Linked DNA regions of Homo sapiens: all the other regions are linked to region 2. Evidence: promoter capture Hi-C in 16 types of primary human blood cells and fetal thymus (Javierre and others, 2016). All regions are on one chromosome and are shown on one strand. Each heading gives the region's core, a stretch centred on a gene start or on the middle of the fragment in contact. The rest is flanking DNA. Distances are from core to core; before and after follow the strand shown. Region 1 overlaps GNAQ (G protein subunit alpha q). Region 2 holds the start of GNAQ (G protein subunit alpha q). Region 3 has its middle 44 kb from the start of CEP78. Region 4 overlaps GNAQ (G protein subunit alpha q). Region 5 overlaps GNAQ (G protein subunit alpha q). Region 6 overlaps GNAQ (G protein subunit alpha q). Region 7 overlaps CEP78 (centrosomal protein 78).

Evidence for each region. The method cuts DNA at HindIII sites, captures the fragments that hold promoters and counts their contacts. A CHiCAGO score of 5 or more calls a contact.
Region 1: a fragment that was not itself captured here is called in contact with the fragment with the promoter of GNAQ in region 2 in 11 of 17 cell types (fetal thymus, non-activated CD4 T cells, monocytes and 8 more); the score reaches 8.4 in fetal thymus.
Region 3: a fragment that was not itself captured here is called in contact with the fragment with the promoter of GNAQ in region 2 in 3 of 17 cell types (monocytes, non-activated CD4 T cells and naive CD4 T cells); the score reaches 6.4 in monocytes.
Region 4: a contact is called between a fragment that was not itself captured here and the fragment with the promoter of GNAQ in region 2, in 11 of 17 cell types (M1 macrophages, non-activated CD4 T cells, erythroblasts and 8 more). The highest score is 7.7, in M1 macrophages.
Region 5: a contact is called between a fragment that was not itself captured here and the fragment with the promoter of GNAQ in region 2, in 6 of 17 cell types (megakaryocytes, neutrophils, monocytes and 3 more). The highest score is 11.6, in megakaryocytes.
Region 6: a fragment that was not itself captured here is called in contact with the fragment with the promoter of GNAQ in region 2 in 14 of 17 cell types (megakaryocytes, erythroblasts, naive CD4 T cells and 11 more); the score reaches 14.9 in megakaryocytes.
Region 7: a contact is called between a fragment that was not itself captured here and the fragment with the promoter of GNAQ in region 2, in 8 of 17 cell types (total CD4 T cells, non-activated CD4 T cells, naive CD8 T cells and 5 more). The highest score is 9.1, in total CD4 T cells.

The regions. Positions count from the first base shown.
Region 1 is chr9:77,828,254-77,831,845 of GRCh38, forward strand. The region is part of intron 2 of GNAQ (G protein subunit alpha q); the gene reads right to left. Among named protein-coding and RNA genes, the nearest start is that of GNA14, 180 kb to the left of the region's middle. The HindIII fragment of the contact is 7,148 bases long and covers 1-3,592 here.
Region 2 is chr9:78,030,460-78,033,824 of GRCh38, forward strand. GNAQ (G protein subunit alpha q) reads right to left here and starts at 1,352. Exons shown (of 7, transcript NM_002072.5): 1 at 641-1,352. The coding sequence starts at 776. RefSeq lists an enhancer at 541-1,435. The HindIII fragment of the contact is 11,535 bases long and covers 1-3,298 here.
Region 3 is chr9:78,190,311-78,193,670 of GRCh38, forward strand. No RefSeq gene overlaps it. Among named protein-coding and RNA genes, the nearest start is that of CEP78, 44 kb to the right of the region's middle. The HindIII fragment of the contact is 931 bases long and covers 1,579-2,509 here.
Region 4 is chr9:77,808,726-77,812,081 of GRCh38, forward strand. All of the region lies in intron 3 of GNAQ (G protein subunit alpha q), which reads right to left. Among named protein-coding and RNA genes, the nearest start is that of GNA14, 160 kb to the left of the region's middle. The HindIII fragment of the contact is 312 bases long and covers 1,590-1,901 here.
Region 5 is chr9:77,869,407-77,873,215 of GRCh38, forward strand. The region is part of intron 2 of GNAQ (G protein subunit alpha q); the gene reads right to left. Among named protein-coding and RNA genes, the nearest start is that of GNAQ, 160 kb to the right of the region's middle. The HindIII fragment of the contact is 2,032 bases long and covers 893-2,924 here.
Region 6 is chr9:77,887,270-77,890,719 of GRCh38, forward strand. All of the region lies in intron 2 of GNAQ (G protein subunit alpha q), which reads right to left. Among named protein-coding and RNA genes, the nearest start is that of GNAQ, 140 kb to the right of the region's middle. The HindIII fragment of the contact is 919 bases long and covers 1,698-2,616 here.
Region 7 is chr9:78,238,394-78,242,104 of GRCh38, forward strand. It overlaps CEP78 (centrosomal protein 78), which reads left to right. Exons shown (of 17, transcript NM_001330691.3): 2 at 1,630-1,802; 3 at 1,899-1,971; 4 at 3,303-3,406. Among named protein-coding and RNA genes, the nearest start is that of CEP78, 4.2 kb to the left of the region's middle. The HindIII fragment of the contact is 313 bases long and covers 1,806-2,118 here.

The DNA.
Region 1 (3,592 bases), core at 414-2,913, 200 kb before region 2:
GAATTATATAGCAATTAAAATTTTTTTTTGTAAAAATGGACAATTTCAAACAAATGTATTCAAAATTTTAATCAGAAACAATCTGAGTGTGTTGCCAGTAGACACTGCACAGGAGGTGCTAACCTATAGATCTGGTGAAGAATGGATGTGTATGTAGTAGGGCCTCAGACTTTCCAGAATCCTACCCATCCTCCTGTAATTAAGCCTTTCCTAATTACTTTTTTCTTTTGGGCCATTCACAGTCTTCACAGCACAATTGTTGGGCACCAAGCTGTATCGTGCCTGTCACTGCTATTTAACTGATCATGTTTTGTACATAAAGAATTTCCAACAATGCAGTAAATTACTTTAGGTCAGAGACTAATATTTCTTGCAGTCTAGCACAATTTTCATGTTAGATCAATAAATATTTCTACAATGGGGCTGAGCTGTCTTGCCTTCTTATATATTTGTCCTGAAATGTGATCTAACAAGACTGAGGAAAAGATGATACAATGACCAGTACAGGACAGAAAAAGTAGTTGGAAGGCCTGGGGGAGCCTCTGTTATGGTCTAGGACCAGTCTCTTAACCTTTATATGTTAAGGGTTGACTTCTATAACTGGAATATTGGATTAGATAATGGCTGAGACACCTTGCCCTTATGATTACACATTCAAACATGGCTAAAGTGAAATTAAAATATTTAACCAGTGGTATGGCATGGGCACCAGCCAAACAGAACAGAGCAAGGCCCTGGACTTTCCTCGTCATGCCTCACATCAGCCTTTTAGGTGCTGGATCACAAAAAGGCCAGGATGTCCTGGGGTGGGACAAGAGCTGCTGGGGCCATTCATGGAACTTGGGGAAGCAGCTATAATATTATACTTTTTCAGACATTTTAACACAGGTATGGTGTTATCAATAGTAGGGGCTGAATACTAACCCAACATATAAGAAACACCTTAGAGTCCTAAGTATTACTTTATTTGAAGGTTTTTATTCTTACATGAAAGCTACGAATGCTTACAGATCTGAAAATAAAAACAAATTCCCACCAATGCTATCAATAATCTTTTTTATTGTTCTTCTTCACATCCTTATAATTCAACATTTTTTGAGGCAGCCAAGTAATAATTCCTGGCTTCTCCATAGTAGTGTTAAGCTCATCTTGCAATGAGGAGCCCAAAACCATACTATGTTCCCTGCTTTCTTCAATAAATAAAGTGGAAAAGCCAAGGACACATCTGACTACTATCCTGCTTTTACAGATGAGAAAAGTGTTATTTAGTGTTCACAATAAAATTCCCTGTGACATGAAGCAGCAATGACTGCGGCTTGAAGCTCCTCTCGACACAGCTGCAGCTTTGTGGCCCACCCGCAGCCTTGAGAGCCCAAGAGAATGAATCAGAGAACAGAGGGGAGGGCTGATGTAGCTCTTGGACTCAAAGTGGTCCACCCACAAGCAGCTTCTGCATCGCCTTAGAGCTTATAAGAAATGCAGACCTCTAGGCCTCTCCACAGATCCACTGTATAGGGATCTCCAGGTTAACAATATCCCCAGGTGATCTGTGTGCACATTAAAGTTTGGAAAGTGCTGATCAGTGCTTCTCAAACTGGGCTGAACATCAGCATCACCTGGGGAGCTTAAAAAAAAGACTCTGATGTCTAGATCCCACCATTGAACATTGTGATTTAATTGGTCTGAGACATGACCAATTTTTTTTTTCTTTTTTTGAGACAGGGTCTTACTCTTTTGCCAGGCTGAAGTGAGTACAGGGCACGATCATAGCTCACTACAGCCTTGATCTCCAGGGTTCAGGTGATGTTCCCATCTTAGCCTTTCAAGTAGCTGGGACTACAAGCATGCGCCACCATGGCTGACTAATTTCTGAATTTTTTTGTTGAGACAAGATCTCCCTAGATTCCCAGGCTGGTCGTGAATTCCCATGCTCAAGCCATCCTTCTATCTTGGTCTCTCAAAGTGCTGGGATTACAGGTGTGAGCCACTGTGGTTGGCCTGGCCAAGGTTTTCTAATGCCCCCCCAAGTGGTCTACACTGGTAGAGACCTTGGTATCTGAAGTATGGGGCACACATCATCCATGGGGCACAGAGAGAAAATATCAAAACCTATGCATATAACCTGAGGAAGACAAAGATAGTAAGTTTTGTCATATTTAATGCATGGAGTAACAATGGCGCCAGGACTTGTCTGATGTCCCTGTGTGGTGACCAGGAGTTCTAAGGAGTCGTTACTAAGTATCTTTGTTAAAACACAAGCGGTTTCTTATGTTTTGAAAGACCTGAATAACTTAAAGATAACTTAAAAACACGTTTTTCTTTTACAAAATGTTAGTCTTCCAAATATGCTGACCTTTTTTGTTGTTGTCATCACAAGGGGCTGAAGTGGCAGCCTATCTGGCAGATATTTTTGTATGAACATATTTCATCTATCCCTTCAAGGCCAAAGAGCATTTCAACAATGAGTGTGAAAGCAACTGCTAGAAAACTTGTGCTGCAAAAAAAGCATTTTGAAAATGGATATTTGGATATGTTTCCATTGTGGTATGATTTTGCTGTCAAAACCACTGTTAAGGTGTTATACCACACACACACACACACACACACACAATCAATGTGTGAACTTGTAAAACTTGAGAAAAAGTCCTTTAAAGAAAGAGTTTCAGTGGAGTTTTTAACCCATTTGTTAAACATGAATAATGCAACATCTTTCAGTTAGTTTGAAAGAACAGCTGACATCAGTGAAGATGGACACTTACTAGCAAAATTTCAATTAAAACCCTTTGCATAATTGGTGAATAAGATTGAGAAAGAATCATGATGTAAGCACAGCTAGTAACATTCCTTCCATTTATAACTACATATCTTATGTGGTTTTCTTTTATTTATGAGACATTAAAAGTAAGTAGTGACTTAAGCAGAACTTACTACCAGACCACTGGATTAATGTGTCACAAATTAATCATTTTTTAAAAAAGAATTAAAATGTTTTATATCACAAAGGATTAAAAATTTTCATCACATAGAATTTTAAGAAAAGCCAAAATAACTTTTAATGATGGAGTGCATGATTTTAAAAATTAGGACCATATGCAGTTTAAAAGGCAGTCTACACTGGGCATTCAGTAGTATCCCACACCAAAATCAGGAGGATCAATTTCCACCCATGCAATTTAAAACCATCATTCATATCATTGATAATGTGTTCTAGTATCTACGATGGCCACCCACCAGAAGTGGAAAAATTATTAATTGGTATGACTGTATTTATAAAAAGCCTCTGTTAAATATAATACAGTGGAAAACTACTAGACAGCATTCTGAGGACCAGATGACATACGCTTTCAATGTGACAGAATTATCTGTTTCATACTCTGTGTATTAATATTTGGTTTTGTTGCTAGAATCACTAAACATCTTGACCTTAATATTACTGTGCCTGTAAAAATGCCCACGTGATATAATGGACACTGCTATATAGAGAATACATCTTATCTGATCACAGAAATACTGTTCATGATTTTGTGAAATTGTACCCTTAAATGAAAATCTTTAAAGAAAATGGATGAGCTGCAAGTAATAAGTATTCATG
Region 2 (3,365 bases), core at 102-2,601:
TCGCCCCCAGTACACAGACCCTTTCCTTGGAGGGCCAACCACTTGGCTTCCTCACCATGAGTGCTCCGGGAATCCAGCTGCGAGTCTGCCCACCGTTCCCCCATTCCCTCCTGACCCCATAGGGCACTGATAATGGATGCACACCGGCCACTCCACCGCAGGCCATCCCCCAACGTGCCCCGGCTCCGCTCGCCACCCGCTGGGCCACACACACGGCTCCCCACGCCACCACCCCATGGGGTGCCGCGGCCACGACACTGGAAGTTCAACCCCTCTGCCCACCTTTCCACCCCCGCGCCTCTGGTCGGAGTGATCTGCCATTTAGCAGATGCACAGCAGATAAGGTACAGCCCTCAGGGACACGAAAAGGAACAAGCCAAGGCACCGGGCAGGGCAGCCCCGACCCCTGTGCTGCGTGTGTGTGTCGCTGTGTGTGTGTGTGTGTGTGTGTGTGTGTGTGTCTGTGTGTAACGCGCCCGCGCGCCCGCGCGGGTGAAGGCAGTGGCCGGGGGCGCGCCCGGGAGGGTAGGGGCGAACCGCGGGCGCCGGGGGGCGGGGGCGCCGAAGGCAGCTGCCCCGCAGGGCCAAGGATGGTGGGCTGGGGGCGCAGAGGCCCGGCGGGGCCCCGGACGGTACTCACCGAGCAGCAGCAGCTTGAGCTCCCGGCGGGCGTCCCGCTTGTCCCTGCGGAGCTGCCGCTCGATCTCGTCGTTGATCCGCCGGGCTTCCTTGGCCTCCTCGCTCAGGCAGCACGCCATGATGGACTCCAGAGTCATTCTTCCAAAGTGCCTCCGCTGCAGCCCCGCCGGCACCCCCTGCTCACAGCGCGCACACACACCCTCCCGCCCTCGCTCCCCCGAGGCAGCGGTGGCCGCCGAGCCCCCGCCGCCCGGGCGCGCGTCCGGGACGAGCTCCGGGAACCGCCGCGGGGGCGGCGGCCAGGGCCGGGGCCACCAGGTGGGCCGGGGGCGCGGTGGGAGCGGATAGTCTGGGCCGACGGGAGAAGAGAGGCGGGCGCGGGAGGCGGGCGCTGGCTCGGGGGGCGCGTGAGAGAAGGCCGCCGCGCCCGGCCTCGCTCAGACGCCCGCGCCTCCTTCCCCGGGAACAGGCGGCCCGCCTCGCCCCCCGAGCCGCCGCCGCCGCCGCCGCCTGCGAGGCTCCCCTACGCCGTGCGCCTGGCGGCGAGAGCTCATTCACCGGGGTGTCCCCGCAGCGAGCGGCCGCCGACGGCTCCCCGCGCCCGGCGCGCCCGCTCCTCGCCGCCGCCTGACACGGCTCCCGGGCGCCCTCGGCCCTGTCCGCGCCCACCGCCCGGCTCGCGCGCAGACCCGGTTCCCGTCCCGCCCGGCAACCGCGCGCTCCTCCGCCTCCGCCTCCGCCCCCGCCCCCGCCAGACGCCCACCCCCTGCCCCGATTGCCAGGCGCGGAGCGGCTGCTCAGTGCGAGCCCTCCCCCTCGCCACACACACACATTTTCTTCTTTCTCTGAACTGGAGCACAGATCCGGGAGGGAGGAGGCGGCGGCGAAAGGAGGAGGAGGAAGAGGCGGAGGGGATGGGCGCGGGAGGAGGGAGCCGGGAGGCGGTGCCGCCCGGCCCCTCCTGGAAGGCTTTCCTGGGCTCGCGGCCGCCGCGGCGCGCCTCCCAGTGCGGCTCTCGCCTCGCCCGCGCGGCTCCCGGGCTGGGCCGGCCCCCGCGGGCTCTGCGGACGCCTACTGCTCCCGCACCCTCGGCAGAGTCCGCGGGCGCAGCAGTCACGGCCGCCCCCGGCCGAAGTCGGGGCCAGACCCGGCCGCCGACGCGCAGCCCGAGCCGGCGGCCGCCGTTGCGTGCCAGGGCCGCAGCCGACCTGCGGCTGCCGTCCGGCCGGGCGTGGTGAGACAGGAATATGGCGGCCTCTGCCTGCCTCAGCCCACCGGCCCGGGAGCGCGGCCGCGGCCCCTGCTGAAGTCGCGGGAGGCGGCCCCGCGGAGCCCCGCACGCGCTCCCTGCGGCGCCGGCGCTGGCGTCCGCCGCTCCCGGGCTGTGCCTGTCTGCTCCACGGGGTCGCTCCTCAGCCGTTTCTGTGTTTCCCGTTCCTATTTCTAAAACGCCATTCGGTTAGAAACTCTCACGTCACCTCTGACACCGGTGCAGTCTTAGAAAATAAGCTCCTCTATACTGTGTGGGGCTACTGGGGAAGGGAAGGGAAGGAATTGGCACCGGTGCCCAGAGGTGTAGGGGGAGATTCACAGGCGAAGCTGTTCGCAAAGTAACGTGAGATAGAAATCTAAATCCTGAACAGAGAAAGGAAGCTGCCCAAGTTTCCAAGAGCCTCCCGATAGGTTCCAACTTTTCATGCCTTTGTTTTTTTGGTGGTTGTTGGTTGTTTTTGTTTTTTTAAGTTGTTTTTGTTTTTGTTTTACAAGTTCTCTTGTTTCTGAGAAGGCACACGATGTTTAGCCGCCGAGTAATCGAATTTACTCTTCTAGACTGAGATTGAATTATGGATGACTTATGGGAAAATGTAAAATAATGTGGAATAAAAGGAAAGGAAAGAATGAAATAGAAGAGAAACTAAGGAGGCCCCAGCAAAACGGCATTCTAGTTTTTTTGATTTGCAATATGTGATTGAGGCAGTAAACTGTCGTATGCACATTTCATTGTGATCGTCTACTGATAAATAGCACACGAAAATAATCTTGTTTAATCAGGCCCAGGAGATGAAACTCATATTGCTTCCTGCCTTAAAGGAACCTGAGGTCTTCAAAGAAAATTGTCTTTTATGAAGAGAACCGCTTTTTCACGTTTCATGTGTTCTCTGAAGTGTCCCTGGTGCAACCTGCTGATCCAGAGTGTAAGGTACGGTCATGACTCTGCTTTTGCTACAGATCAAGAACTCATATAGGGTTCTTAGACAACAGGTGTGTAACTTCCTTCTTTCTTTCATTTGCCATTACTCCACCGTTTCACACACATACACACACTCTAAACCACGATTTAAATCAAGCAAGTCAAGATATAAAATATATATTTTAGGTTCTCTGTTTAAAACCTAGAAAATAATTAAATTTCACCTTGCCCTGGAGAGCAGAGAGGGCAAACCTCAACCCTTTTATGTGAATGCCTACAGAGAACAGCTAGACTTGCTATGAAATTAAAATTTAAAATCAAGTGACTAAAGAAATTAAAGATTGAAATTCAGTATGCAAAAATAGAAAGTGGCTTCAGAAGAAAAAATTTTAAGTTTGCATCCTCCGAATATATGTATGTATATGAGCTTTGGAGAGACACAGAACACTGGAAAACCAAATGACAGAAAGCTTGAAGTCTCTGGTTACCTACCCAGGGATCCTCTGAGACTTTTAAAAATGTCTTTTAAAATGAG
Region 3 (3,360 bases), core at 794-3,293, 160 kb after region 2:
AGAGTTAGATCCTTACCTATTGATGGCAGTGTTGTGCATTTTACAGTTTTATAAGGTGAGAACAATTATTTCCCCCATTTTACTTTATAGATAAGAAACCTGAGTACAAAGATGGTTAAATAATTTGCCAAAGATACCAGAGCTAGTAAACAAGGACCCAGAATTTAAGCCCAATCAATTTGACTCTAGAACCTGTGCTTTTTATCCAGCTTACAAGTTTCAGAGAAATAGAAAGTAACGCAACATTCGAATAATAAACAACCCTCCAAATCATACAGTGTGTTTGTATAAATTTATATGACTGTGAAGAAAGGTGTGGAGAGATGCAACCAGATTATTAACATGGATTACCCTGGGGAGGCAGGTATGGGTGGGGACGAATGGAGTGGGAGAGCTTGTGAACTCTTTAAACATCTTTGCATTGTTCTCCAGGTTATAGACAGCACAAGTCTAATAGTTGTGTCTCTAGTCTAATTGATAAGGTTCTTTGTGCCCCACAATCTATTCCAGAATTCATTAATGCATCCCCAAAATATTTATTGAATATCTGCAATGAGGCCAGGAATAGTGATAGATGTAAGATATCTAGAAGAGCTTTACCCAAGTATGGAGATGGACAATAAAGTATGTGATAAGTGTTAGGACAGCAGTTTAAAAATGGGGGCATAGAGTTAACACAGGCAGGACTGAAGTATGGGGATAGCAACATTCTGGAACATTTCCCAAAAAAGTGGCACCAGACAGCTTTGGCTTGGCAAGCACCTATCATCACCTTGACTTGACTCATATTACCTCCTTTTCTTTCATTTGATCTTATTTAATTTCTTTTCAGTTTAGTTTCTGGCTTAGACAGGCAACAAGGTAAAGAGTCTGAGCTTTGGGGTCGGAAAGACCTGAGTTTGAAATAATTAACTAGTAAATTAATCTGTAATTTACTAGTTGTGAAGAACTTGGAACAAGGTGTGCTTATTTTCTCTAAACTTCCTATCCTTCATCTGTTAAAGGCTGATAATAATAACTACTTGTAGGCTAGGGTGAGTGTCCTGGGTTTTACTGCATTAAAACCCTTTCAAAATTTACAGGCTTAAAGCAACTACATTTTATGCATACATGTTGCTCATGAATCTGCAGGTTGGGTTGGGCTCAGTGGGGATAATTTACTCTTGTTATTCATACACAGCTTTAACTGGTATGGTTTGACTAGGGCTTGAGGATCCACTTCCCAAATGGTTTATTCTCAAAGCTAGCAAGTTGATACTCAGTCCTTTCCACATGGGTCTTTCGATGCTACTGCTTGGGCTTTTTACAATATGGTGGCTAGACTCTAAGAGCAAATGTTCCCCAAAATGGGAAATATGGGCTGCTAACGCTTTCCAGCCTGGGACCAAATAATACATGGACTCACTGTTGTATATGCCGTTGCTCAAAATAGTCACAGAGCCCATCCACCTTCAAGAGAAGTACACTGGAATATTTTGAGGAATACAACTGTATACAATCATGGCCAGAGAAATTTCCCAGGCAAAGAAATGAAGATGCTGGCAGTAGGAAGTTGGGTCTGCATGCACTGAAGAGTTAAGCTTGAGGGAACATGGACAGGGCACCGACATGGCACTACTGCCACCTGATCCATCCCAGAGTGTGAGCTCCTTCAGTTATAGAAATCTTGGACAGTGGGACAAAATAGGTGTTCAAGAAGTGATTCCAGAATGAATGAATGAATGAATGAATGAATGAATGAATGAATATAAGAGTATTCACCCTAAATATAAACAGAAAAGAAAACCTAGCACCTACCATGTCATTGAGCAAGGGTCAACAAACAATGATCAGGGGGCCAAATCTAGCTTACCACTTGCTTTTGTGAATAAAGTTTTATTTACAACAGTACCTATCTGTTTGTGTGTTATCTATGGCTGCTTGTATGTTACAATGGTAGAGTTGAATCATTGTGACAAAAACCTATGGCCCACAAAGCCAAAAATATTTATAGCAACCCTTTACTAATCCTTTACAATAAATGCTTGTAGACTCCTGACATAGAATATTGAAATCTGAGCAGTTTACATCCATATTTCTTATCATTTCTCCTTTATTTTCCTATTACTTTTGCCTTTTTTTCTTTTCTTTTTATTCATCTATTACTGTGTGCCCAAGGCTTAGGTATAGCTTAAGGGACAAGAAGAAATTTCACCCTAAGATCCAAAAAAAAAAAAAGAGTGATACCACTCTTATTCTAACAGATACAGCAACCACAATAGGGAAGAAGTGAACAGAGAAGGAAAAATCAGGGATGAAATGGAATTAATCAAATATGGTGTTGCTATTCAACAATTAGCTTGACTGCCCTTTTTGCAACAGGGCCTGACAGTGTCATATTTATACCACATTTGGTTGCCACTTGGCTAAGGAGCCTCAGCGGGGTACCAATTAGAGTTCTTAGTGGCAAACAATAGAAACACATTTTGGGCAATTGAGTCAGAAACTAATGTATTAAATGATATTTGGAAGCTTTCTTCATATCCAGGAAAGCTGAAGAAGCAGATCTAGAGGCTACGTAGCAAGAAACATCCAAAGTCCACAGAAGTGATCCCACATAGTCCACACTGCCCCCACTACTGGATAAGAAACTTAGCCAGTGGTAGTCTCATCACCCCTTCTGGACCTTTGACCTGGCTAAAGAAAACATCACTACTGCCTCTGGAAGGTGGAGGGGGCTCTCCCAGGATCAATCCCGATAATTGACTATGCACAGTCGCTGATTTCCTGACTCTTTGTGTTGCTAGTTACTGAGTCAAAGTCTGACTCCGAGCACTTGATTGCTGAGCTGTAGGTCAATGTTTGTGTTCTAGTTGTAAGGGAACCAGGGAAGGTGAGAATCTGGCTTCCAGAGTTGGAAGTATCTGTTCCCAACCCAGAAGATCCTGAACTTTTGAATTTTCCTTACTTTCTTAATGTTTTCATGTCCAGATTTTAGCAAGAGCTTTGAAAGGTGATTCAATGCTTAATTTTTTTATTCATCCTTAGCAATATTTACTAAGGGTGGGCTGCATGAAAGCAATAACCTATGCTTTGCTTGTGGCCACATATCTGGTCTGTGTCTGAGCATGGGCTCACCTCATCAACTACCACATATTAATGGAACACTTGTTGGCTGTGTTAAATTTGCCATTTCTCAACTAACTTTAAAAAGCTTCACTATTATATGAAGAAGAGAATAAGGATGTGAGATCAAGAAAAGGGGCTTTTTATTGTGTTTTTAATTTTTTTTTATTTGCTAAACAGTTGGAGGAAATACGAGCATGTTTTCCCACTCGTAGGAAAGACTCTGCATAGAGAGAAAGGTTGATGCTACATGGA
Region 4 (3,356 bases), core at 496-2,995, 220 kb before region 2:
CTATGTCTGAGGAAAGTGACGCTTAGTCAATGCCCCCGAGGTAGTGAGTAGCAGAGGGAATTCCAGCTGGACCTTGACCTAATATTTTCACCATACAACGGTCTTATCTGCCTTCAAAAGCCTGGAGTAGGCTTAAACTTAAAAAAAACAAAACAAAACAAAACAAAACAAAAAAAACTATCAGAGGAAAGTGAGGATGGATACAATGGCCAAACCAATATACCCTGGAGTACAAGTATTTGACTCATCAGTCAGCAACTTCTTAGCAAGGTACTTCCTCTTCAAGAAGGACTGGCCCTAAGTTAGCTGGATGTGTTACCCTATCTCTGAAATGCCTTTTGTTAAATTCAACATGGCACATAATATATTGGTGCTAGTTCATCATCAGACTCAAAAAATGTAAGCATGCGTTTAGAAAGTCAAACTCCAATGTTGACTTATGCCAAAAAGCCAATCTACTCATGTTCTTTACGGGCTCCGGATCATGTGGAAATTTCAAGAAGGTGTCTGATTTACCCAGCTCCCTGGAGGGGAATTCGGTGAAGTAAGATTAGAAATTATTTGGTCTCTTAAGGCAAACACAGCTACAGTAGACTAGCCAAAGCCTGCAGATGAGGCCTTTTCTCACTATACGCCAATGTGATTGAGACTTGTGTCTTCTGGCTAATGTCAGGGAGCTTTTGGTACTGTAGGCAGTGAACTCATTTGACCTGATTTCTCAGTATATTAAAGCAGGTGGTGAAATCTAGGGGAAAAAAAGTGAACCTACAACCATCTGTTTTTTGTGCTCTTTAATCATTTTCAGAGCCTTCAGGCTTTTTATCAATAACGAAAAAGTTAATAAAGTAATCTACACAACTCCCTAGGATCTTAGAATGCTTTTTATTCTTTCATTAAATAGAATTGGAAGAATTCACCAAATTAAGGCCAATTGCAAATGTATCCACAACTGCTTATCCATTATCTGGAATTTCCTACCTCTGTGGTTCTATCATTGCTGCCTGTCCTTTGAGTCATCTGATTACTTACTATGATAGGCAAGTTGGCTAATCAAAGTAGAAGGGAAGCTCAAATCATTTTATGGTGTCCTTCTTACTGGTTCCAGTAAAAAGTGATTGTCTGGATTTTGGGGGAGAGGGGTTGAGAGATAAAGACTGTAGGTTAAAACAAAGAAATAACATTCCTGAATTATCTGTAACTTAGAACATCTTTCATGTTAGTATGGATAATTGCTGCTTAGCTAAACATGGCTAAGTTTTCATAATGATAACCAAAAACCTATTGGGTTTGTTTTCCAGTCAATTTTATATAATTTTCCTTCTTGACTTTATAAATATGAAACTGTCTGTAGACAATGTTGGTAAAGATTAATAATTTGTTCTTCATGGTAAGTGATTTATAAAACACCTAATCATAGGTATTTATCTACTGATTCATCTATCTACCTATCTATCCATCTATCTTATCTAAAAACTGTCAATCATCTATCTATCTATCTATCTATCTATCTATCTATCTATCTATCTATCTATCTATCTATCTGTCATGCATCCATCCATCCTGTGTGAGGCTGTATTTCAGTGGTTAAAAGCTTGGGCTCTGGAATAAGCAAATTTGAATTCAACTCCTCCTCCATTCACTTACTAAGTATGTGGCCTTGAACAAATTATTCAGTCTGAATCCTAGTTTCCTCTTATGTTAGACGGGGATGCTAATAACTATGTACCATTGTAGGTGACTTTGAGGATTAAATGAAATAACACATGTAAATGACCAAGCACAGAATCTAACATATATTAAATATTCAGTAAATAGCAGCTATTATTGTCTTTGATAAGGCTTTTCATATCCCAGACCTTCAACAACAGCAGGAAAAAAGACTTGAATGCCTTCGGCTCTAAAGCTTCATAATATTTAACAGCCAAAGAGAGACTGGTGCTTATACCATGGTCATTAAAATAGTAGAAATTACCCATCTATTATTTCGTGAAACAATCACTTCTATTATTTCATGAAACAATCACTTGTGAAAGTCAAACATGAGCACTGCTGTCAGGAACAGAGGGTAGAGGGGAGAGGCACTGTAGTAAATGTGATGACGGAAATAAAAGAGATATGTACACAGTGTTAAGATAGAAGACATAGTGACTTACTGTTACTGGTGTTGGGCAAGGCTTTCAGAAAGGGTGACTCTTGAGTCGGGTCTTAAAGGATGAATAGGAGTTCATCAGAGAGAAAAGAAGACAGGCATGCTTGGCCTCTGCTCCCAGTATTTTTTTAAGTCGCTTGCACTGAATCTCACAACCACTAGAGTTGTGGAGAGAACTGCTACTACACTACAACCTTTAAGTAGGTGTGTGTGGCAGGGAGATTCTCCTAATACCAGAAATGTAGATGTTAAGTATTCCCTAAATCTACTCTGAAGACCTACCACTAGAGACAGGCAGCACCAAAAGAAGTTGGTCCTAAGCTCAGAAATATTTCTGTAAGATGAATATTTCTGTAAGGTGATAATGAATAAGAAATTAGGTCCAGAATAACAATGAAGTATGTTTCAATTATAAAGATAGGAACAATTATAAAGATATGAAGATATCTTTATAAAGATATATTATATATAAAGATATAAAAATATAAAGATATGAAAAAAAGGAGGCAATATAACATACTGAAGATGCACTAGGGGAATATACACAAAAAAGTCAGAAAGGAAAAGGGCTAACAATTATCTCAAACACAGAGAAAGGAATTATTCTGAGTTATTTGTGAACATGATTTTTAGTACTGGGAAATCAGCGATGTTTAACATATGGGACCTACATCTTTGCCAGTGCTGTCGTATTTGCCAGTTCCTGGAGCATCTGCAGTGATTACACTGGAGAAACATGTGGAACACAGCAGCAAATGAGTGACTCTATGATGCCCAGGTCCTATTTCTGTTGAGAGGTTTACCTGGCTAAGGAAAATGTAAAGTGCTCACTACTAAGACGGTGAAGAATAAAGTAAGTAACACTCGGGCCTCCTGGCACAGTGGGATTAAGGCAAGCCAGGCAGGCTGCTTGGGCACTGATGTATAGGTGGTGCCAAAACATCCCTGGAGGAGACCTGAAATGTGGGTCCAGTTAACTCTGGTTTATACACACAACCCCTTACATAACTGGCAGGAATAAACTGATTCTACTCCCTTTGAAGTAAAGAGAGTATTCTACAAAAAATGAAGGAAACAAACCTCCCTCCCTCAGTTTCACTTAGCTAAGGTGACCAAAGGTGACAGGTCCCTGCCTGTCCTGGAGAGTCGCTGTTTCACCATAATTATTAATACAGCCTCCTCTTTCTCAATGTGTCCTGGTTCAGAT
Region 5 (3,809 bases), core at 659-3,158, 160 kb before region 2:
CTGGGTGTATAGGAAAACAATCTTTTGTGTTAAAAAGGTTAAATAAATTTAATCAGCTTATGCAGAATTTTGAATTATTCCTTCTTGGGATAATTTAGTTACCAGAATTGGTAAACAACCATATTTGCTATATATAAATGTAAAGAGGACAGGAATGAGACCTTCCTAAATACTACTCTAATAACATCATCATTCTCTAGAAAAATTCGTAGCTAGTCTCAAATGCTTCTAGGATAAAATCCAAACTTCAAAATGCAGCCTATAAAATACTCCTTAATTTGGCCACTTCCTACCTACATAATTTTATGATCTGCTACCCTGATTTACTCTCCTCTAAGCAGTCCTCATTGCCCTGCCTATAGTCAAACCCATCTCCTTCTGGGAATGCCTTCCCCACTCCCCAGTCCTCAAAAGCCTGACACAAGGTCCCCTTTGCTACTAGCCTTTCTAGCCATGCAGCTACACTGAACTCTGACAATATTTAGAATTTTTAATTTGATAAGTAAATGGATGAGTATGTGAAAAATTCATAATGTTTATATCTACATGTGTATAGACATAGATTCTCTTCTAGATAATGCCTTCATAATAGGGACTTTCTCTTTGAGGTCTTTGAATCACCTGCAATCAGAAATATAGCTAGAATAATAGGAAAAATAATTGCTTCCATTTATCACCTGGTTCTTTTAAATAAGGTAATAAGCGAGTATGCTGATCTAACAGTTTTCAACACTGAGACAAAAAGTGATCTTCTACATTGAGAAGGCTATGGGAGCTTTATCAGCTAATAGAGAATCTTTGAGTAATTTCTTTTGGGGATAATTTAGTTATGCGATATTGATATTTGTTACATATAAATGAGGTTACAGGAAGCAGTTTGAAACCTCAAGAAAGCTTGATGCCTTTTTTTGGTGCTAGTTTTTTTTTTTTTTTTTTTTTTTTTAGACGGAGTTTTGCTCTGTCACCCAGGCTGGAGTGCAGTGGCGCGATCTCAGCTCACTGCAAGCTCTGCCTCACGGATTCACGTCATTCTCCTGCCTCAGCCTGTAGCTGGGACTACAGGCGCCTGCCAAGGCGCCCTGGCTAATTTTTTGTATTTTTAGTAGAGATGGGGTTTTACCGTGTTAGCCAGGATGGTCTCGATCTCCTGGTCTCGTGATCCGCCCGCCTTGCCTCCCAAAGTGCTGGGATTACAGGCTTGAGCCACCGCGCCCCGCCTTTGGTGCTAGTTTTTTACCCACCAATGGCTAGGTCTCACTCCAGTCACATTCTTCTTGAGATAAATACTTGTTTTGCCAAAAATGACAAACAACTCAAATGTCCATCAAGAGGTGAATGGATAAACTGTGGTACATTCCAAATAAAATACTACTAACCAATAAAAAAGGAAAATAAACTGGTACAAGCACATTAAAAAAAAAACCTCAAAAACACTATGTTGAATATAAGAAGCCAAACGCAAATGATAGATACTATGAGATTCCATTCCTATGGAATTTGACATCAGGCAAAATGAATCTGTCATCACAGAAAGCAATTAGTTGTCTAGGGATGGGAGACTAACTGTAATGAACATGTGAACTTTTTAGGGTTATAGAAATGTTCTACATGCTAATGGTAGTGGTGGGTGCATGGTTCATACATTTGTCATAACACCTCACAGTGTACACTGGAAAAGGCAACATTTTATCCAATGCAAATTATATTTCAAATAAAGTTAATTTAACATTTTTAAAGGTTAGTTATGACTGCCTCTAACATAATCCATATTACAATTACACATGATAGCTAAGGAAACTAAAATCTAGTTGACAATTTTCTTAAGATGTAGTCTATAGGACTATTTTCTTAAGGTATAGTCCTCTGGATTCTCCAGAGGATAAATAGTCCTTTACTCAGCACTGAACTCTTTCCAAATCACAATTACTACTCATTACTTAGGATCCAGGGATAAGAGTAGCCATCCCAGGAGTCTACTCAGGTGAGACAGATTAAATACAGAGCTGAGAAAGGTGATTTTCAAAACACCCAGACTGGTTTAAATTACTCCTTGCTTCTCTAAATCACAGACATGGTTTGTGTTTTGTTTTTTAGGGGTAGAAAGGTGGGATGATTTGTTATGAAATCTCGGAGAGATCCTCAACAGTGGTGGGCTTTTCTGATCCCTTTTAATATCCTTTTTAATATCCCTTTTAATCCCTTCAAAGGCCAGGTATTTAAATGCTGCCTCTTGGTGGCTTCCTCCCCATATCCTCACCATGCTTTGTTCCAACAGCAGCTCCCAGATGGAGCAATAAGGATGTGTCAGTTGCTCAAAGTGTACTATAAAAACATCACTTTTTTCTGATCTATAATAGAATTGCAGAATTTTACTACCTAAGTGGACAAGTGGCATAACAGAAAAATCTTCCTATATGACAACTTAATATTCTTTTGATTGTGTAGCACTTGGATTTTCATGGGGTGAGGGAGAGGTATGGTTTCATAAATGACCACATGAAAGGGCATAAGGGTAGAGACTGAAACTTTGGACAAAACATTGCTATGCCCTAAATTATTATCTCATGTATATGGAATTCAAACTCTTATTCCAGGGCTAATAAGATACATGTTTTAGCAGTTCTTCCAAATCAAATAATAGGTAGCATGTGCATCCAAAATTTCCTGAATGGCAAATGCTATCATTTGTTTGTTGAATTCTTATACCTTCCTACCATATTTTATTATATGCTATTCAATATTTCTTGAACATCCACTCAGCAATGAGCTAAGTAATTGCAACTATGCAATATGCAGTGCAAATGTATTGTTGTTTGGTTGTAAAGCAGAACTTAAAAATTACATATGGTCAAATTACCATTATGTGAAAATTCCTAACATCACTGTCAAATTACCATTAAACTACTAGGATCTGAGTTCTTGGAAGCTTAGAAGCAAAAAAAATAATCATTTCTTTTGTTTCTGTTAGCATCTCAACTGTGGCTTTCCCTTCCCTGGGGCAATGGAAGCCAAGGTTTAGCTTCAGAGGGAACACAATGTGTAAACTGAATTTACCATGTGCTAAATTATAATTAATATACATATAAATTTGTAATATACAGCTCTACTGTATAAAAAACTGTTCCTGCCTCCAAGAAACCCATAATACAAACATATATTTCATAACAGGGTGTAGAATACAAAGCAGATTTTAACACATCTCAGCACATAGTTCTTGACCATGAATGTGTGTGACTGGCATGGAAGAGATTATCTTCCATTTCACAGATGTAAACGCTGAAGCCCAGAGAAACAAAGACAAAGTCCAAGTTCACACACCAAGACTCTCAGGGTTTCTGACTCCTGTTTCTGTATTTTTAATAGCATACCAGCCTCTTTAGGGATACAATACACAGACACATGAAAGGGGCTTAAGTACACATAGAAACCAACACAATACACCTGAAGGTTTTACAAACTGATAGTGCACTCTCCCTCGGTAAGGACCAATTTGAAAGGAAAAACAGAAACTCCAAGGTGGAGTCTGACAGAAGGAAGATCTGGCTTGGAGGTAAATAAGAGGATATTCTAGGTCATGAGAATGTTCCCACAAAGACACTAGAGGGAAGGATTAGCAAGCGAATTTGTTTCGCTGGAAAGAGAATGTATTGGAAAGTATAATACAATAAGATTTTGTATTCATCCCCTGGGGTCTAATCTTGAAGATGTTACAACATTCAAACAACCCACTTAGCTGAAGCTAGCTGAAGAATAGAAACAGAACTGTAATAATGGTGGCAAACAGATGTTTACTAGCACAATGAAATATC
Region 6 (3,450 bases), core at 907-3,406, 140 kb before region 2:
GCAGATACATTCAATGTTACTAAAAACTGAAGACTCATTTTCTATACTTCAGGGTGAAGACAGTAAAGCAAATTTACCTATTCTTTTAGTCTGTAATTTCAAACCCAAACTGGATTTAATACTCCTTTTACCTTCATTTATCAAAGAAAATAAGGAAATAGTTTTTAGGGCCAAGCCCCAGCCTATTAGGCTTGCTTTACTATTTGCTTGCTTTACTCCATACATTTCTATCTCAAAAGACAATAAGAGGTTCTGCAGTTCTATATGTAGTTTTGTGTCCATGGACATAGGTAAGGAACACCAGATAAACTGTGGGCATTTTGCTGGAGTGCACTATTAGTGAACTTCCAGCAGTGCCTGCTTGTGATTCAGAGAATATTAATCTTCTAATCCCCCCAGTTAAAGCAGAATGTTCCTATTATTGTTCTACCATATATTCTTAGAAATATTAAAAGACTATAAATCATGTTAGATGTTATATTAATATATAACATATCACATGCTACATATAACATGTTTTTAATATACATATACACACACACTATTATTCCCCAAGGCTTCTTTCTGTTGCACTCTTAATCATTTTGTCCACACCCTTTCAATAAATATTTACTGAAGACATTATGAGCCAAGTACTGGCACATGAATAATTCTTTTAGCAATTATTCTAGATCAGTAGTTCTCAAAGTGTAATCGGGATGCTCCTGGAGACTGCTGAGACCCTTGAAGGGGGTACGGGATGCCTAATTACTTTCACACTAACACTAAGACATTTTGTGCCTTTACTGCTCACATTCTCTCATGACTGCACAATGCAGTTTCAAGACATGCAATGATGACATCTTTCTGATGGCTAATGGAATGGGTGTTTGCACACACTTGTTTTGATGGGGTCCCAATTTTAATTTCCAATAACATAAATATCAATAGACATTAAAATAAAATAAATATAAATAAAAGCTCATTATTGGAATCCACGATAACTTTTTAAGTATATAAAGAGGTGCTAAGATTAAAACATTTGAGAATCCTCATTCTAGATCACTGGCAATAATTCCTCCTGCTACTACACAGATTTCAGAATACTAATTCTTGAATGACTTCTGGAATTCTTGACCTTCAAAATTAGTGTTCCCAGAGAAAACATCTAAATAGGAAAGTATAGCAGTAATAGCTCACTAAACAACTTTCCTGAGCAGAGTGGGGTAAATGCAGCAAGGAGAAAAGTGGCTTGCTATAAGAGTGAAAATATTTAAAATGTCTACTCATTGTCGCAATCCCCTAATGCCTCAGGACAAGATGAACTTTTACCATTTAAACCTTATTTTGAGTTATCCTAAGGTTGGAGTTCTGCTTGCCTTAAAAAAAGTACTCTGAATCTTGAAAAATCCAGACTGAGTCTGTTTATTCTTCACGTGGAACGCTGGCTGAGAAGAGTGTCAGATTTTGGAAAAAAAGTGAGGTTTATGAGAAAGATGAGGAAAATAATCATTCCTGTAAATCAGAGCAGCAGAATGGGAGCCTCTGGATTATTCACTAACAATTAGTCTAGCAAAGTCCCTTGAGTGTCTGACGCATCAAAGCACTAAAGCCATTTGCTCCCTCAGAGTAGGGGAGAGGACACGGAAGAGATTCCATTTTCAGCATGACATTTAGAATCAAATTAGAAAATCAAAAAATTTTTCATTCTTCCCATAAGCTTGAACTCCTCTTTGTCATTCTACAACTTGAATGCCCAGTTTCCTTTGAAGCACCATATATCATCTTTTAAATACACCTCAAAACAACTTTTGATTCCTTCACTTTACTTAGTCATGCCATACCTACTGAATTAAACATTTCAAAAAAATTCCTTAATCCTGAGGCTGGGCATGTTGGCTCACACCTGTAATCCCAGCACTTTGGGAGGCCAAGGCAGGAAGATTGCTTGAGCTCAGGAATTAGACCAGCCTAAGCAACATGGCAAAATCCCATCTTTTAAAAAAAAAATTAGCCGGGTGTGGTGGTGCGTGCCTGTAGTCCCAGCTACTCATCAGGAGGTTGAGGTGGGAGGACTGCGTGAGCCTGGGAGGCGTAGGGTGCAGTGAGCCAAGATCCTGCCACTGCATTCCAGCCTGGGCGACAAAGCCAGACCCTGTCTCAAAAAAAAAAAAAAAAAAAAAAAAAAAAAAAAAAAAAATCCTTAATCCTGTTTAATGTCTCATTATGATGTTTATTCATTTCTGATCTGTTTCTAGCATCTTGCTTTTGTCTGTAAATTGCAGGGTTTTCAGAATATTCTCAAAGAAGGATCAACTGTCCAATGCTTATTGGACACATGTTGATCCTTCCAGATCCCTAGTGATGCTGCAAGTTCATTTCCAATTTGCTGTGTTAAGTCCTTCTTGATACCAGGCAGAAATGTTTCTTGTTTTTTCTCTTCCCTTTATTATCACAGTCTCTAATGAGTCCTGCCCACTGTATTCAATTAGTATGCTTCTCTTTGTCAAAATACGTCACCGCTTATTTCTAACCAAATGCACAACTATCTTTATACCTGTTCTTTTGGTTTTTTCCCAAACTCTTAAATTATCATGGCCTAGAAATTTTAATAAACTGACATTTCATCCCAAATGAAGCTTTTGCTTCCATCTTTCCAGTTATCCGAAATGTTTGTCAAAGTCAAATTGTATTAATTTTACATGCAAACATTCTATAATATGCATACTAAAAACAAGTAAAACTACAAGTTAGTTACTCCTTTTATCTACTCGCTTACAAAACACATAATAGCTAATCCTTCAAATAGACATGGGTTTGTAAGTTTTCTACTTTATTCTTTATTAAAAATTATTTTAAATGTTTAAATTTTGAAATACTTTATCTTAGTTATAATGTATCTTAATTCTGTTCCCAATGTAATTGCCGATTCGCACATATCTTTGTATTGGTTATTTGGGTTGGCATACCATACTCCTAGAATCCTCCACAGTACTTCTTCCAGACCCCTAAAAAACTTGAGAGTTTGACTGAAAGACTTCATAATAATTTATCGAAGCCATCTGGCATTACTTAAGCTATGCCTAAGAAAGCTTTAGTAGCATTCATTTTCTAAATGTTCTTATTTCATCCTGAAAATAGAGGGGGCATAGAAATATGAGAATTAGAAACGTGTCATAAAACTGCATTGCAAGGCTGGGCACAGTGGCTCATGCCTGTAATCCTAGCACTTTGGGAGGCCGAGGTGGGAGGATCACCTGTGGTTGGAAGTTCGAGATCAGCCTGACCAACATGGAGAAACCCCGTCTCTACTAAAAATACAAAATTAGCCGGGCGTGGTGGCGCATGCCTGTAATCCCAGCTACTTGGGAGGCTGAGGCAGGAGAATCGCTTGAACCCAGGAGGCGGAGGTTGCGGTGAGCCGAGATCACACCATTGCACTCCAGGCTGGGCAACAAGAGTGAAACTCTG
Region 7 (3,711 bases), core at 712-3,211, 210 kb after region 2:
AGGCTTTGTGGGAGGACAGGTATTTGAAGGCATGGGAGGGACCTAGATTACCCACAAAGAAGATCCAGATAATTGTAGGTCTGAAAGGTGTTTTTTAAGTGGATATGGACGTGAACATGTTTATAAGCTGAGAGAAAGAGGGAGGGTGTGCGATCTGGGAGAGGAAATGATTATTGATGTATTTAAAAACAACCTGACCACTTGTCGTGTGCCCGGCCCTTTTCTAGGCTCTGGGGTTAGCACCATCTCTTCTGCAAGGACAGTTCAACACATCTGCTTCTGAAAATAAGTCAGATTATTCTCTACATCTCATTCAGGTGCAGGAACTGTTCTGTACCTCTGAATGGACTTTAGTTAACCAAAATAATATCAGGAACCAGGCCAGGTGCGGTGGCTCACACTGGTAATCCTAACACTTTGGGAGGCCAGGAGTTTGTGACTGGCCTGGGCAACATAGTGAGACTCCTGTCTCTACAAAAAGTAAAAAATATTAGCTGGGCTTGGTGGATCTCTTGAGCCCGGGAGGTTGAGGCTGCAGTGAGCCATGATTTTGCCACTGTACTCCAGCCTGGGTGACAGAGCAAGACCCTGTCCATGACCCTCCCCCTACAAAAAATAAAAAAACCAGGAACCAAAATAAATTAAAGATGGGAGGGACCTCAGAGTCAAGGCTAGCCTACTAGATCTTGCCTAATATTTTGCACTGAATGTAAGAAAAATGTATTACAGACCATTCTCGTCAGATATTCTTCACTGAACCTTCTTTATCTCTTGCATCTAGTGGGTCTAGGTTGTAGATTTTAACCTCCTACATATTGCTTGTCCATCCTTAATTACATTTTGCCTGGACTATTGCAGACGCTCCTAGCTAGTTTTGCTGCCGTTGAGCTTGGTTTTTCTCAGTTCATCTGCCTACTTTGGTTCAAGTGATCTTTCAAAAAGGAAAAGACATGCTTAAAGTGGCATGCCCACGCAGGACCAGTGTGTATTGGTTGCTTGTGTTCTGCACAGAGGCACTGAAATCTCAGCTGTGTTCTGTTAAGCCTCCTGGGGTTAGTTGGTCTTGAGGAAGGGGAGCTTTTTCTCATTTCCTTTATCTCTTTGATACTCCAACAGTGAGGCACATTTTTCTAACCTGCTAGGGGTATCCTTAATGTGTCAGTGGTAGCCCTGATCCTCATCACCTGTGAGGTAAAAGTGAACTCTCCTAGGCTTGCTTCTCCCTGCCTCTTTGTAAATTTCTGACTCTTCCGGCTACGGCTCTGGGCTTTAGTCGGATCCACCTGCAGTTTTCCAGTGCCCGGCAGGTGTCAGGCTTAGATGCCTTTGCTCTCGCTGCTCCCTCTGGTTAATGCATCACCCACTCTCACCCCATGTTGTCATTCTCATCTTTCTAGATTCAGCTTCAGGATTATCTTGAAGCCATCCTTTCAGTGCAACTTCTTTGCTTCCATAAGAACCTCTATGTACATAGTTTGGTATATCCCATGTGGCTTGAGTTTACATGTGTCTGTGCTTAAGAGGACTTTAAAGGACATGGCTCATTTCTATGTCTTAGCACAGAGCAGATGTTTTTGAATGATACATTGTATGATTGAAGTCACTAACTTTCTTTTATCTTTGTTTTAGGTTCTGACATGAATAAATTTTGCAGAAGTCGTGTTCCTGCGATAAGATACAAAGATGTGACCTTCCAGTTGTGTAAAGCTCTTAAAGGCTGTTTAAGTATATCAAGTGTGCTAAAGAACCTGGAGCTAAATGGACTAATTCTGAGAGAGAGGGATTTAACTATTCTAGCAAAGGTAAGCTTTGTCTCATTTGGCTTGTAGACATTTGATAGTTGCTTTTAGAGGAAAAAAAACCTCAATAACATTTTTAACTTTTCCCCCTCATTAAAGGGATTGAATAAATCGGCTTCTTTGGTGCACCTGTCTCTTGCAAATTGTCCAATTGGAGATGGAGGTTTAGAAAGTGAGTTTAAATCTCATTTAACTCTTGTCCTATCAGGCTGGTTTCATGTTTCCCTACATGCCATGTTAATTCCTGTCTGTACCTTTTTTCTTACTACTGCCTCATATGCTTGTTCAAACCTTGGTCCAGTCTCAAGTCTACCATGAAAGCTTGGCATGCTGAATGTAATCTGAACTAACTTTACTTAAGTTTGTGTTAAACCACAGACCACACAAATATATACCATCTGGTATTCTCTGTTTTTTGTGTTTGTTCATCTTTTAGAGTTTTTCTTCAAGAAATATTTATGGGAAGGAAATAGCAAAATGTAAAGAGGCCGGGCGTGGTGGCTCACGCCTGTGATCCCAGCAATTTGGGAGGCCGACGTGGGCGGATCATGAGGTCAGGAGATTGAGACTGTCCTGGCTAACATGGTGAAACCCCATCTCTACTAAAAAAATACAAAAAAACTCACCAGGCATGGTGGCGGGTGCCTATAGTCCCAGCCACTCAGGAGGCTGAGGCAGGAGAATGGTGTGAACCTGGGAGGCAGAGGTTGCAGTGAGCCAAGATCACACCACTGCACTCTAGCCTGGGCGATAGAGCAAGACTCCGTCTCAAAAAAAAAAAAATCATCATTACTTTAAATAATTAAAACATATATACAATCAATTTTAATGCACTGTGGTATGTTCCAAAATAGGAAATATAAGCAAAGTGCTGTATAGGAGCATATAAAAGGCTGACAGACTTGGGGGGAAAGGGTTGGGATCATGGAAATAGTCACAGAAGGTGACTGTTCGTTGGGATCCTGAAGTCTTGTGTTCGTTGTGTGAAATAGTGGTCTGGAGGGGTAAGGAAACCTGCATTTCAATTTGAGGGAGCAGAGAGTTAAAAGGCCTCTGTCTTCTATTGTTCTAGTACATTAGGTGCTCTAGTATAACACCTAATAAAATTCTGGGTTTATAGTTGACACTGAATTGTTGGTTAATAACAGATTGAGGTCTGCTCTTGGAAATGAAAATAGGAAGAGTTTTATTTTTTTTATGTTTTTCTTTCAGATGTCTCAAAAAGTATATAGAACTTTACTGTGGTCTGGAGTAAGGTTGCAATATTCAGTCTATTCAATTTTGGCATCTAAATAGAATTGAACTATTGCAATAAACTGGAGTAACTCTTTGTTACTGACTTATTTTAGAATGTACCAATCAGTTGCTTAGGTAGATTGTAAATAGTGATTTTAAGAATACAACTATAAAATAGAAAAGATATAAGAAGAGCAAATAAATCAAGACTGACTAGGTTGTATATGCTCTTCATCTTATTGTATGTGGTTTTTTTTTCCATTTTAGTTATTTGTCAAGGTATAAAGAGCTCTATCACTCTTAAGACAGTCAACTTCACAGGATGTAATCTGACATGGCAGGGAGCAGATCACATGGCCAAGATCTTAAAGGTAACTTTATGTTCCAACTTTCATGAAAATGTGTTATATGATTGCCACACGTTAATATTTTGATACAAGACAGCAGTTATTTTTGTCTTTTGATACATATGGGCATTGCAGTTTTAGTTTTGTTTAAAGAATGTGACCAATTTTCAGCCTGGGGTTCTACCATTTATTAAAGGTAGTATGCTTAATCTTAGAAATAGAAGACCTAAAATATAATAATTAGATTTTTCTGTAAATACAGTTTGTAAAACAGTAATTTTAAAGGTGCCTTAACAACTTTATAGTGGTTATTACTACTGTATTTAGGA